Regions from separate parts of the Homo sapiens genome. Here region 1 is linked to region 2. The links are contacts of gene promoters, found by promoter capture Hi-C in blood cells and fetal thymus (Javierre and others, 2016). All regions are on one chromosome and are shown on one strand. Each heading gives the region's core, a stretch centred on a gene start or on the middle of the fragment in contact. The rest is flanking DNA. Distances are from core to core; before and after follow the strand shown. Region 1 overlaps MTMR14 (myotubularin related protein 14). Region 2 holds the start of PRRT3 (proline rich transmembrane protein 3).

The links. The method cuts DNA at HindIII sites, captures the fragments that hold promoters and counts their contacts. A CHiCAGO score of 5 or more calls a contact.
Region 1: a fragment that was not itself captured here is called in contact with the fragment with the promoter of PRRT3 in region 2 in 1 of 17 cell types (monocytes); the score reaches 5.2 in monocytes.

What each region holds. Positions count from the first base shown.
Region 1 is chr3:9,689,116-9,695,531 of GRCh38, reverse strand. It overlaps MTMR14 (myotubularin related protein 14), which reads right to left. Exons shown (of 19, transcript NM_001077525.3): 17 at 5,389-5,568. It overlaps LOC124909344 (a long non-coding RNA gene), which reads left to right. Exons shown (of 2, transcript XR_007095816.1): 2 at 7-2,028. Among named protein-coding and RNA genes, the nearest start is that of CPNE9, 12 kb to the left of the region's middle. The HindIII fragment of the contact is 1,583 bases long and covers 3,697-5,279 here.
Region 2 is chr3:9,949,816-9,955,557 of GRCh38, reverse strand. PRRT3 (proline rich transmembrane protein 3) reads left to right here and starts at 3,150. Exons shown (of 4, transcript NM_207351.5): 1 at 3,150-3,236; 2 at 5,386-5,742. The coding sequence starts at 5,443. It overlaps PRRT3-AS1 (PRRT3 antisense RNA 1), which reads right to left. Exons shown (of 4, transcript NR_046734.1): 4 at 771-954. RefSeq lists a silencer at 3,112-3,651. The HindIII fragment of the contact is 9,295 bases long and covers 1-3,664 here.

The sequences.
Region 1 (6,416 bases), core at 3,239-5,738, 260 kb after region 2:
TCTCAGTAGGTAACACCGGCCAAGAACCGCACTTGCAGCAGCTGTCGGATGGATTAGGCAGCACAGACAGCAGCAGGGTGTGTGATCCCAGGGGACAGAAGCATCTCTCAGCAAGCAGCCATCTTCTGCAGACTCTGGGATTTTTCAAGAGTGAGCACACTGGCTACAAAGGAGTCTTCCTACGTGAGGCCTTTGTCAAAGGAAGGGCTACAAAGTGACCATTCAGCTCCTGGGGTTGAGAGCAAAGGGCCATGCTAAGCAGGAAGGTGTTCACAAATACCACCATGGATTAGCTGGCTGCAGGGGACACCTACAGTGCATCATGTCACCGGGAGTAAGGACCTGTGCCCACATACTGAGAAGGGAGGAAAAGCCTTCCAGTCAGTCTAAGAACACAGGTAACTTAACCAGCTTCAACAAGAGCCCAAAGTCTTTTGCCCTGAGCAGCAAACAGAGGGATCCAAGCTCCACCCCCTCTGCTCTCCCACTACAGGACTGGAGAGAACATGGGACCAAGCAACCCTCAAACTGGATGGTGGCGGAGCTGAACAACGCTTCAGAGGTCACCTGTCCACATCCCAGCGGCTCAGACCTCTGCCTAGGAGGGTGGGAGCTCAGCAACATTTCACTTCCTTAGTTGGATGCGGCTCAGGGCCCTCTTCACAGCACCCAGAGCTGCAGTTCCTACCGGCTCCCAACTCCCCCGATGCCCTGCTGATGGCCAACTCAGAGCAGGTGTCTTTTAGCTAGTCCTTTCTGGAAGGGGGTACAAGAATACTCACACAAACCGAGCTGGCTCAACCCAGGCAAGAATACACAGGTCGGGATGGAGGCCTGGCCTTTTACGCAGCTGCCTAGTGCCATGACAGAGCCTACAGGCTCTCGGACAAATGACTAAGGCCAAGTCCTTAACCACAGCTACAGTTTACTGAGCATTCGTGAAAAGGTATCTACTATGAGTATTTACTCCATCCATCCCAGTCCATCCCAGTCCATCCCAATCCATCCATCCATCCATCCATCCATCCAATCTATCTATCTAATCTATCTTTTGTATTGGCAAGGTCTCACTATGGTGCTCAGCCTAGTCTTGAATTCCTGGGTTCAAACGATTCTCTGACCTTGGCCTCCCAAAGTGCTGGATTACAGACATGAGCCACCATGCCCAACCCATTATTTCATTTTAACCCAAACTTACGGGAGGGGGGCCTGAATCATTTTTCCCCCTTTAAAAACAGGATAAAATAACTGAGCTCAGAAAGGAAGTGATTTTTCCAAGTCAGACAGCTAGGACTGCAAAGCTACGACGGAAACCCAGGTCTGACCAAAGCCCTTGCTGATAATATACTCATCTTTCTTCCTGATAAGGGGTGGGTGACTCAGAAATTGGTTCATGGACCACCACGTAACCTCCAACGGGAGTAAAGCACACAGCTTCTACCTATAACTGAAAAAAGAGGCTCTCATCTGACCCTGGATGTGAGAAAGGAAGCAGCGTGTCATCCTGGGAGGTGCTGTCAGCCATTTTGCCACCATCAGGGAAGCTGGCCAGAGAACAAAGCTAACATGCAGGAGGCAATGGGAACAAACTACGGGGAAATAGAGCTGGAACCTTGATCAGGCTGCACCTGAAGACTGATTTTCCACTAGGCTTTTCCATATACAGTTGTTCCTTATTATTCCTTTTTGTTGCAGGGAATTGGTTCCAGGATTGCCACCCACTTACCACCCCACCAATACCAAGTCCTTGGATGCTCAAGTCCCTTACATAAAATGTAGTAGCACAGCTGATCCTTGAACACACGCATGAACTGCACAGGTCCACTCATATGCAGATTATCTCCTGCCTCTGCTGCCCTACACAGCAAGACAGCCCCTCCCTCTATTTTTTCCTCAGCATGAAGACCTTTATTATGATCCACTTCTACTGAACACACAGGAAATATAGGTTCCCTTCCTTATGATTTTCTTAACATTTTATTTTTCTCTAGCTTACCTAAAAATACAGTATATAACAGATATACAAAACATGTGTTAACTGACTTTATGTTATTGGTAAGGCTTCTAGTCAACAGCAGGCTATCTGTAGCTTTTGGGGAGTCAGAGTTATACCCAGATTTCAACTGCATGTGTAGGGGACAGCCCTAATCCCTGCATTGTTCAAGAGTCACTTGTATTTGCATATAACCTATGCACATCCTCCCATATGCTTTAAATCATCTCGATTATCTGATACAGTGTCAGTGCTCTGTACATGGTTGTTACACTGCATGTTCACATCTGTATTACTTTCTATTGTTTATGTTATCTTGAATGTTTTCAATCTGGTTGGCTGATCATGGATGTGGAAACGACAGATATGGAGGGCTGACTGTAAATGTGTTTCCTTTATTGTTTCGGTCAGTTTGAAATGTGTTTTCTGTTACTTGCATTTGAAAACATCTGACAAGGCTGATACAGAAGGTTTGAAGGTATACAGCTAGGAAGGACCTTGGCGTTACCTAAGCCTCTGATTACACAGATAAGAAAATGGAAACCCAAAGTCATCAAGTGACATGTCATGAAGTCACACAGAGTTAATACTTGAGCTAAGATATAGAATCCTGGGCTCTGAGGGGACCTGGCTGTCACCTAATCTAAACTTACCCTGCTCCCACCCACAAGCAGACAGCCTAAGACAGAGCTCGTTGCTCAAAGAGCAGTTAGCAGGTGGTGGTGGCTGGGGGAAGAGTAGCTAACTGGGCAGCAGAGGTTGGTCCCTGTGTTGCTACTCAGCTATTCAACCAGGCTGCTGGGCATCCCTCCGCAAACTTCACCTGCTCTTCAGGTAGCCTGGCTTCAAGCTGGGCTCAGTGGTGGCACCAACCCTCCTTGGGCATGGACAATCCTGTGCTAGCAACCTCCCTACTCCTAAAGGATGCATGACTCCAGAGCAGAGGCCGAGGCCGAGGCCATGCAAGGTGGAGCGACCTGCTAACCAGAGCTGGGGGAGGCATGTGAGCTCAGAGCATTGGTCCTGGCCTGTCCCAGCCCTCAACCCTGTCGCTGATGAGAGATTTAACAATGGTCCAGAAATGCAACTTAATCAGAAGCTGCTGCAGCAACAACAGCTAACAATGATTAAAAACCACTGGGCTTGCCAGTAAGGGCTGTGGGCTCGGGGTTAGTAAGAATTGGCACCCCACAGAACTTTCTTCCCAACCTGATTCATACCTACTACTTAACTTTGAACAAAGCTTCACAGATTCATTCCATGGGGGAATCCTGCTTTAAAAGAGAGATGCCTGTAGAATTTGGAGTGTATAAAAACCCAAAGAATTCACATTAGGAGAATTTTGGCTGTCACAGACAGCTTCACTAAAAGGTTTCTTTCCAAACAGCTTCTCCTACCACATTAAAGACCTCACAGGCTATTGTTACCTAAGAAGCAGGGAGGGTAATGACAGGATCCCTTAGGCACTTTAAGATAAGAGACTAAATTAATTTTAATGGTAATGGAAATACATAATTAGAATGCTCCAAATCTGAGTAATCTAGACTTTCAAAACCTCTGACCAACAGGCATCCAAGTCAGAAGAAGTCTGGCTCCAGACAGGCATCCCCCAAACAGACCAGCGGAAAGATCAAACACCTCACAGCTGCCCACCCCACACCTTTCAAAGCCTTGCACCCATCTTGGTCCAGCTATCCCAAGCTTGGCCAAGCCCCCATGTGCAGGGCTCTGAGGTCAGGAGGACAACCCCAATTCTCCTCAGCCTCCCAAGAGGGGGCCTTGGTGGCCATCCTGGACTGGCTACAAGAGCCTGAGACACGCCCTGCAAGCAGAAAGTCACCTGTGAGACTGAGGGACACTATCACAGGATTGGAAAGTGGGATCTTTTGGCAGGCAGGAGATGGAGAGCCAGGGTGTGGTAACGGGTGATGGGGTGCTGCCTCAGCTTGGGAGCTCACTGCATTCTGGGCAGTTAAGACTGAGGCAGGACCCAGAGGACAAGAGGAACCTCTGGTTTCCTCCCTAGTTGTTCAGCAATGCTGGACAGGCAGAAAAGGGGGCAGGAACCATGACCTAGAGCCACAGCCTAGAACAGTGAGGGTCAAACAGTGCCACTGCAGCCTCAGAGTGGCCCTGAGGACAGCTGGGCACAGACAAGGGTGGTGCGGCAGCAGGCATGCACACACAGGATGGGACGGGGCACCGGCACATGGGCTTGTCTGTCTGGCCCCATCTCTGCCCCACCACTTCCACCACACCTCCCATGGGGCCAGACGGCGTGTGGCGGTGGTTTCACAGGCTCAGCTCCAGCACTCAGGCAGTGTTCTGAGCTGAAGAGTTCACGCAGGGGTGAGCACATGGGGCCCCTGTGGGCAGTGCAGTCTGGAACGCCCACTTGCCTCCCGCTTATCTGCTCTGCCTATGTGCAGAGGATGTTCTTCCCCAACTTCCTTCATTGCCTGTTTTTGCCCAGAGGGAAAAACCATAGAGGGGTGATGGGAGGAAGGTTCCAGAAGTTTCAGAATGTTTTTCTTCTTAACAGACCTATTACTACCAAGGACTAAACTGAGTCTGAAAATCACATGGACATGTGGCAGAGCTTGACTTGAACCTGGGATGGATGCCAAAGCTCATGCCCATTCTTCTAAATGCCCCTTTTTCCCTGGAATTCACTAAGGGCCTGAAGTCCCACGCTGCTTTATTCACTCCAGAAAGGCTAGACATTCTCAAAACTTTAGAACACAAAGCAATTCACAGGATTCTTTCGATGGGAGTATGAAAGTGGTAGGAAATGCTTTCCCCAAGTGCCAGACCAGCCCTCAATCCTAGCCTCTGGCCTGTGCTCAGCTTTAAACTCACCCAGGAGGCACCATTCCTGCAGCGCCCTTCAGCCACGGCCCTGGCATGGCCATCCTGGCTGAGCTGCTCCCTTTCCAGGTGTGCAGTCACCATCGTTTGTCCCAGCCACACACATGTAGCTCAGCTCCCTAACACTGTTCTCACTGCCCCACCAATTCAGACTTTAGATGTGGGAGCCAGAAGGGACTCAGAATCTAGATCTATCTCTTCAATCACAATGGGAGGTGCGCCTAGGAGGCTGGGATCTGCCAAAGGTAACAAGTGGAGGCAGTCCCTATTCCCCACCTATCACATAACAGCCACGGCACTTCTGGGTTCCCCTGCATTATGCTAGGGTTCGAGGAAGGAGTCTCAAACCACTCTACAAATCAGCCCTTGCTTTATTACCAAACACTAACCCATCCTCCAAATACTGGGCCTGCAAGCTTAGGAACCCCATCTTGAGACCCTAGCTCAGGTGCTGGCCCCCGACCCTCCAGTCTTATTAAGGGGGAAAGCTAGGCACTTCCAACAGCAAGGGCTTTGGAGCTCCTCACCTGGGTTTGGGGACCTCCAGGGGACTGCTACCCATCCTGAAAAAGTTATCAGAATGGTTTGAGGAAGAGGAGCTGGAAGACCTGGCTTCCGCCAGCCCCTGCTGGGAAGGCAAGCGGTCCTCTGAGGGTTGTGGCCGGTTCCAGAGGACACTCTGTGGAGAGGATGAGTGGCTCTTCCTCCTGCAGTGGAAGGAGCAGGGCTGTGAGCCGGGGGCCACTGCAGGCAAAGCCCTCTGCCCACCCTCACTGAATTTCAGGCCTAGGCTTTACTTCCACTGGGAAAACATCACATGAGTTGGCAAACATTAGCACTCTCTCCAGCTCAGGGCCATGGGCAGCAGGGCTGGGTCTTTATGGAGGGCCTGTGGCATCCAAATCACACCAGCCTACTGGTCTTGAAGTATGTGCTAGAAAATGATTCCTCACTCTTCAGTCACTGCCCACCTCCATATGTTATGCAAAATCTTTTTTCCCCCTCTAAAAGACGGGGTCTCATTATGCTGCCCAGACTGATCTCAAACTCCTGGGCTCAAGTGATCCTCCTGCCTTGGCCTCCCAAAGTGCTGGGATTATAAATATAAGCCACCACTCAGGACTTTGTTATGCAACATCTTGAGCCATCTGTCCAGGGTGAAAGTCATCAGGGTCTCAATTTCATGAGATTCTCAAAGGAGCTGACCCTCAAGTTCCCAATTCCCCATCAACTTACACCTACCTTTTGGTTTTCTTTTTCCAAAATGGCCCCCTATCTCCCCGACAAATGATAAAATGGAGCTCCTCCAATACCAGCCTCCCCAGACCCCTGCCCTACCCTGCCCAGCTGCTTCTCTGTCCCACAGGGAGCCCTAGCCCTTTATGTTCCTGGGCCACCACAGGCAGTGCCCTTCACCAACCAGATGGCTGACTTCTGAGGCCCAGTAGAGACAGCAGGAGCACGGAGCTATCCTCTCAGCTCTTCTCTTGGGGGCCTGCTTTGTTCTTGGGGCTCCAGCCTGGCTCCCTGGTGCTGATGGCCCCGGGCCACAGCT
Region 2 (5,742 bases), core at 1,901-4,400:
TTGGTGAACAGGAGATATTGACCATCCCTTGTATACTTGGAGTCACCTTCCATTTATCCCCGCCGTCCCAGAGTCTGCAGAAGGATGCTGGGAGCTCCATCTGGAGCTGAGATACTCCCCGTCCACACCTGCGCACCTCGTGTTCCCCGCTTACATTCACCTCCACCCCAGCCAGTCTCCTCTTTCCGCAGGATCAGCTTTCACCTTGGCCTCTAGCCAAAGGGATCCTAATCTCTCTTGCATTTGTTTGGAATCTCAGAATGCCTGCCGGTTGGTGGTTTAGAAACGCGATGGGATTGGGGCCCCTGGTTCCAAAGAGGGCAGCCAGCAAGCAGCCAGATGGCCCTGCATGGACTGGGAGGTCAGGCACTCACACACCTGCCCTTCTCAGGAGAAACTGAGGAAGGGAACCGGGCCAGCTCTGAGCCTGTGGAGGGAATCTCAACATCTCCAAAGGAGGCTCCCAGCGAGTTCACAAGGGGAAGTGAGAGGAAGGATCCAGACTCCTCAGCTTCTGTAGGGGGCCCTAGGACTGCATTCTGGCCAAGACTGCCCACATGGGAACAGACACAGGTCCCCCAAAGGAAGTTAGGATGCTGTCAGGAAGGGAAATGGTTATTGCAAAACCCTCCAAAATGTCAATCAGCTATATGTAGAATCAGGATCCAGTTAACTTCCTACAAGATTGTAACAACAGGCTGGATCTAACAAGATAAACAACAAACAAATGTAGAATCCTACATTAAGAGTCAATAAACCAGTGGTACATGAAGAGATGGGAAGACTTTACTACTAGATCAATTGGGTAACAAAGTAATGTGGCTGCTAGAAACATTAATTCAGTGTGAGGCCGTATGAATGGAGTAGAATCCTGGAAAGGAGAGGTGAAGGTTCAGCTTTACTCCCAACAAGGTTCATTTCCAAGAGTCCTACTTTCAGAGGGGCGTTGTTGAGCTGGTAAGAAGCAAACAGAGAAGAGATTCCACATGGTGAGAACCCAGAATCCTGTCCTGCAAGGAACAGCTGAAAAACTCGGAGTGTTTGTCCTGGAGAAAGAAGACTCTAGAGAAATGAGAGATGCCTTTACAATTCTGAAGTGGCTCCAACAAGGAAAACAGAGCTGGTCAGGTCATGTGTGAAACGGGCAAGGCCTGCACCCTCTCCCAGAGTCAAGCAGCTGAATGCAGGCCCCACCATTTACCAGCCATTAGGGATGGAATATTCTTCAAACTGCAACACGTCAGACACAACTGGGGCCTGAGTATTGCTTTTCTGTGAGAGCTAGAGGTAGGAAGCCATTGGGAGGGAGATGTCAGCTCAGCCCTAGGAAGAATTTTTTCTTTTTCTTTTTTAAGTGAAATTTGATTTTTTATTTGATACTGGGTCTCTTTCTGTCACCCAGGCTGGAGTGCGGTGGTGCGACCTTGGCTCACTGCAACCTCTGGCTCCTGGACTGAAGTGATCCTCCCACATAACCCTCCTGAGTATCTGGGACCCAGGTGCGCACCACCACACTTGGCTAATTTTTTTTTTTTTTTTTTGGTAGAGATGGGGTTTTGCCATGTTGCCCAGGCTGGTCTCGAACTCCTGGGTTCAAGCAGTCCTCCAGCCTTGGCCTCCCAAAGTGCTGGGAATATAGGCATGAGCCATTATACAGGCCAAATTTTCTTCTTCTTCTTCTTCTTCTTTTTTTTTTTTTTTTTTTTTTTTGTCAGTCTCGCTCTACTGCCCAGGCTGGAGTGCAGTGGTCATTGCACTCCAGTGACACAGCTTGTGGTCAATGGACAGAGTGGTCAATGCACTCCAGTGACACTCCAGTGGCCATAGCTTACTGCAATCTTGACCTCTTGGGCTCAAATGATTCTCTGGCCTCAGCCTCTGGAGTAGGTAGGACTACAGGCATGTACCACCACGCCCAGCTAGTTTTTTTGTTTTTTTGTTTGTTTTTTAATTTAAAAAAGTCTCACCATCTTGCCCATGCTGGTCTTGAACTCCTGGGCTCAAAATGATCCTCCTCTCTAGGCCTCCCAAAGTGCTGGGATTACAGGTGTGAGCTACTGCACCCAGCCCTATCTCATTTTTGATAACCACATATATTTCCTGTGTGGCTTTCCCTTAAGGAATTGAGCCTAATAATGGATGTTTAGTATATCAAGAGGTGTTCAAAGAAAGACCAAGAACATTTTGACAGTGTCTACCAGCCCCATATGCAGACCCATAGATTTTACTACCATGCCTCGGCTAGGCAATTATCTGGTAGGTGCACTAGTGTACGTGCACAGTGATGTGTTAAGCAAGGAATGGCCCCTGCTCCATTATCCCTGCGAGCAAAAGGCTAGAAACAACCTATGTCCAATTACAGGGGACAGGATAAAGAACAATAACTAGCTGACCATATGCTGGAATTCTCAACAGTGGATACAAGAAATGATATAGATCTATAGATATTTACATGAAAAATGTGCCAGAATATATTGGAAAGTGAAAAAGACAAATTACAGAAATGTGTACAGTGGCTGGGCACGGTGGCTGACGCCTGTAATCCCAACACTTTGGGGGTCCGAGGCGGGCTGATCACCTGAGGTCAGGAGTTCGAGACCACCCTGGCCAACATGGTGAAACCCTGTCTCCACTAAAAATATAAAAATTAGCCAGGCATGGTTACTAGGGAGGCTGAGGCAGGAGAACCACTTGAACCTGGGAGGCGGAGGTTGCAGTGAGCCGAGATCACGCCACTGCACTCCAGCCTGGGCGACAGAGCAAGACTGTCTCAAAAAAAAAAAAAAAAAGTATACAGTATGATGTCATTTCTATTTAAGATGTACATGTAACTGTACATTGAGAAGAATCTGAAGGATACATACCAAGCTGTAGGTAGGATTTACCTAAAAGGATGTAGGGATATAGAAAGGAAGTGAGCTCCCCGTCCCATGAGGTATGCAAGCAGAGGCTAGCTGCCCCGTTTTCAGGGATGCTGCAGAAGACATTTCCACATCCCTCAGAGATGACCTCGGTTCCACTCTGAGCCCTGACAATCCCTGAGCGAGGGGAAGTCAGGGTTGACAGAAGAGTCCACCCCTAAGGGGAAAGAGTTAAGCAGGGCTGCGCTCCTGTGGGCGGGCTCGCGATCGGCAGCGCCGGGCTCTGTTAGCCGAGTCTGAGCATCTCGGAGGATGCGGCGCGGCGATCGGCTGCAGGGACGCGCGCAAGGTGAACACGGGGGCTGCGGCGCGCAGGTGAGGAGCTGGCCCAGGGAGGGGGCGATGGCGGGACCCCGACGGGGAGCGTGGCCTGCTGCCCCCGTCGCGGGCGCAGGCGACCAGGCCTGCACGGCGCCCACCCCCATCCAGGACACTGCGGGAAGGCGCGGAGCCAGGGAGAGAGGAGACGGAGGAGGAGGAGGAGGAGGAGGAGAGGTAACCCGAGATGGACCAGCTCCGAGGCTGCCCCGCAACGGCCTCGCCCTGCCCCCAGGCCGGCCTCTCCCCAGTCCCTGCGGCAGAGAGATCCGCCACCCCCCACAGCCTCTCCAGCAGAGTGGGAGCCCAGGGCTGGGCAAGCCCCCGCCTTGTCCGCAGGTGCCCACATCTCTTGGGTTGGCAGTGGTAGGCAGATGGCATGTTTATCTTTGGAGGCCCCATTCAGCCGTTTTCTCGGCAAAGCTTTTTGGACCTCCTGTGGAAGATGAGCCTCCGAGGGTTTCACAACCCCGATTGTGTCCACTCAGCTGTGTGACCTTGGGGGAGTTGCTCACCCTCTCTGAACCCCCGTTTCTTCCCCCTGTGAAATGGCTGTTCCCACACCTTGTATTGGGAGGGCGGAGTGACGTGTTGCTAAGCTCAGCGCAGGAGCCTCACTGGGAAAGAACTAAACACAGGAGCACTGTTTTTAGCCAGTACCTGTGTTAGGGGCGTCTCAGCGCACCCCTACTCCCAACCCTGGAGCAAAGCCCTGTCTCTGGGCCCCCAGCACCTAGCCTAGACCAGGAGCAGCCCATGGGGCTCCGTGAATGTTTGAGAAATGAACTAACAAGGCTTTAAGACAGAGTCTAAACTCGAGTTTGGAGGATGGGACTCAAAGGTCTTTGAACCCCTTGAAATTGTTCACAACTTTCGGTGAGCCTGGGTCTTTTCCCCGGGAGAGCACCAGGGGTTTTCAGTGGCTTCTTAAGGTGTCTGTGAGCCACCATGGGTTAACAGCCAGGAAGCTTTGGGGACAGCTGCTCCCCAGAGAGGAAAAGAGCAGGGCCTCTGCCGCCAAACACACCCAGGCTTCAGCTCTCGCACCCTCCATGAAACCTCTCCTGGTGGTGGGGCCCCTTCCTGCCTCCCTGGCCCACTGACAGGCTCTCGAGAACAGGAACTTTTAGGGGATATCCACGTGGGGCCAGGTATATACTGGAGGCTGCAGGTTTGAAATAAGAGGCAGGAGATTATTATAGAATCAGACCAGAGTGACAAGTGCCCAGGAAGATGAGGGAAGGAAGGCGGGAAGAGGAATGTGTAACGCTTGTCAAGCATCAGGTATGAACCTCGCCCATACCTGTTTGGTTATTTGTCTCATGCCTTGAGTTAGGCATGCTTATTATCCCCATTTTACTGATGGGAAAACTATGATGCAGAGAGGTGAAATGACTCCCCCAGGAAATGAAGACACTGGGATTCAAACTCAGGCCCCTCGCCAAAGGCCGGTGCATATTCCTCTCCCTCTCCACGTCTCTCATTTTTGAAGTGGGCCTTTAGGAATAACATTTCAGGCAGGGTGCAGTGGCTCATGCCTGTAATCCCAGCACTTTAGGAGGCCAAGATGGGCAGATTACCTGAGGTCAGGAGTTCAAGACTAGCCTTGCCAACATGGCAAAACCCCATCTCTATTAAAAATATAAAAATTAGCCAGGTGTGGTGGCACATGTCTGTAACCCCAGCTACTCGGGAGGCTGAGGCAGGAGAATCACTTGAACCTGGGAGGTGGAGGTTGCAGTGAGCCGAGATCACGCCACTGCACTCCAGCCTGAGCGACAGAGCAAGACTCCGTCTCAAAAAGAACAGGATTTCAGTAAGTGAAGGGGAAGGGAGAGAGCATTCCCTGCTGACAGAACAGCAGAAGCAAAAGGCATGGGAGCCACACAGTCCAGTGGGTGTTGGAGGACAGATGAACAGCTTGTGGTGGCCAGGGTCTTGGAAGGCCAGGAGAGGAGCTTATGTTCTTTCTTGAGGGAAATGGGGAGCCACTGAAGGTTTTAAAGCAGGGCAAGTGCCACGTCCAGCAATTTTAAAAGCAGAGAAGCTGCTGCCTTGCGTTGCTTTTCTTTCCTGTCAGCCCCTTGAGGAAGGCATGGGGGCCCCCAGCCCTCACATGTCATTCCATGCCCTGTTTTTTTTTTAGGCTCATCCAGTGAGGACTGGAAGGTGGGGGCTTTAGGCCCAGGCATCGGAGTAGACCATGGCCTCCAGCCCATGGGGCTGTGTATGTGGCCTTCTGCTGTTGCTGCTGCCACTCCTGGGGACTGGCCCTGCCCTGGGGAGGGGCTTTCCCAGGCCACTTGAAAACTCCGAAATCCCTATGATCCCTGGAGCCCACCCCAAGGGCTCTGTGGGCTCAGAGCCCCAGGCCTTTGACGTGTTCCCGGAGAACCCCAGAGCTGACAGTCACAGGAACTCTGATGTCCGCCACGCCCCTGCTGAAGAGATGCCTGAGAAGCCTGTAGCCTCTCCCCTTGGCCCAGCCCTGTACGGGCCCAAA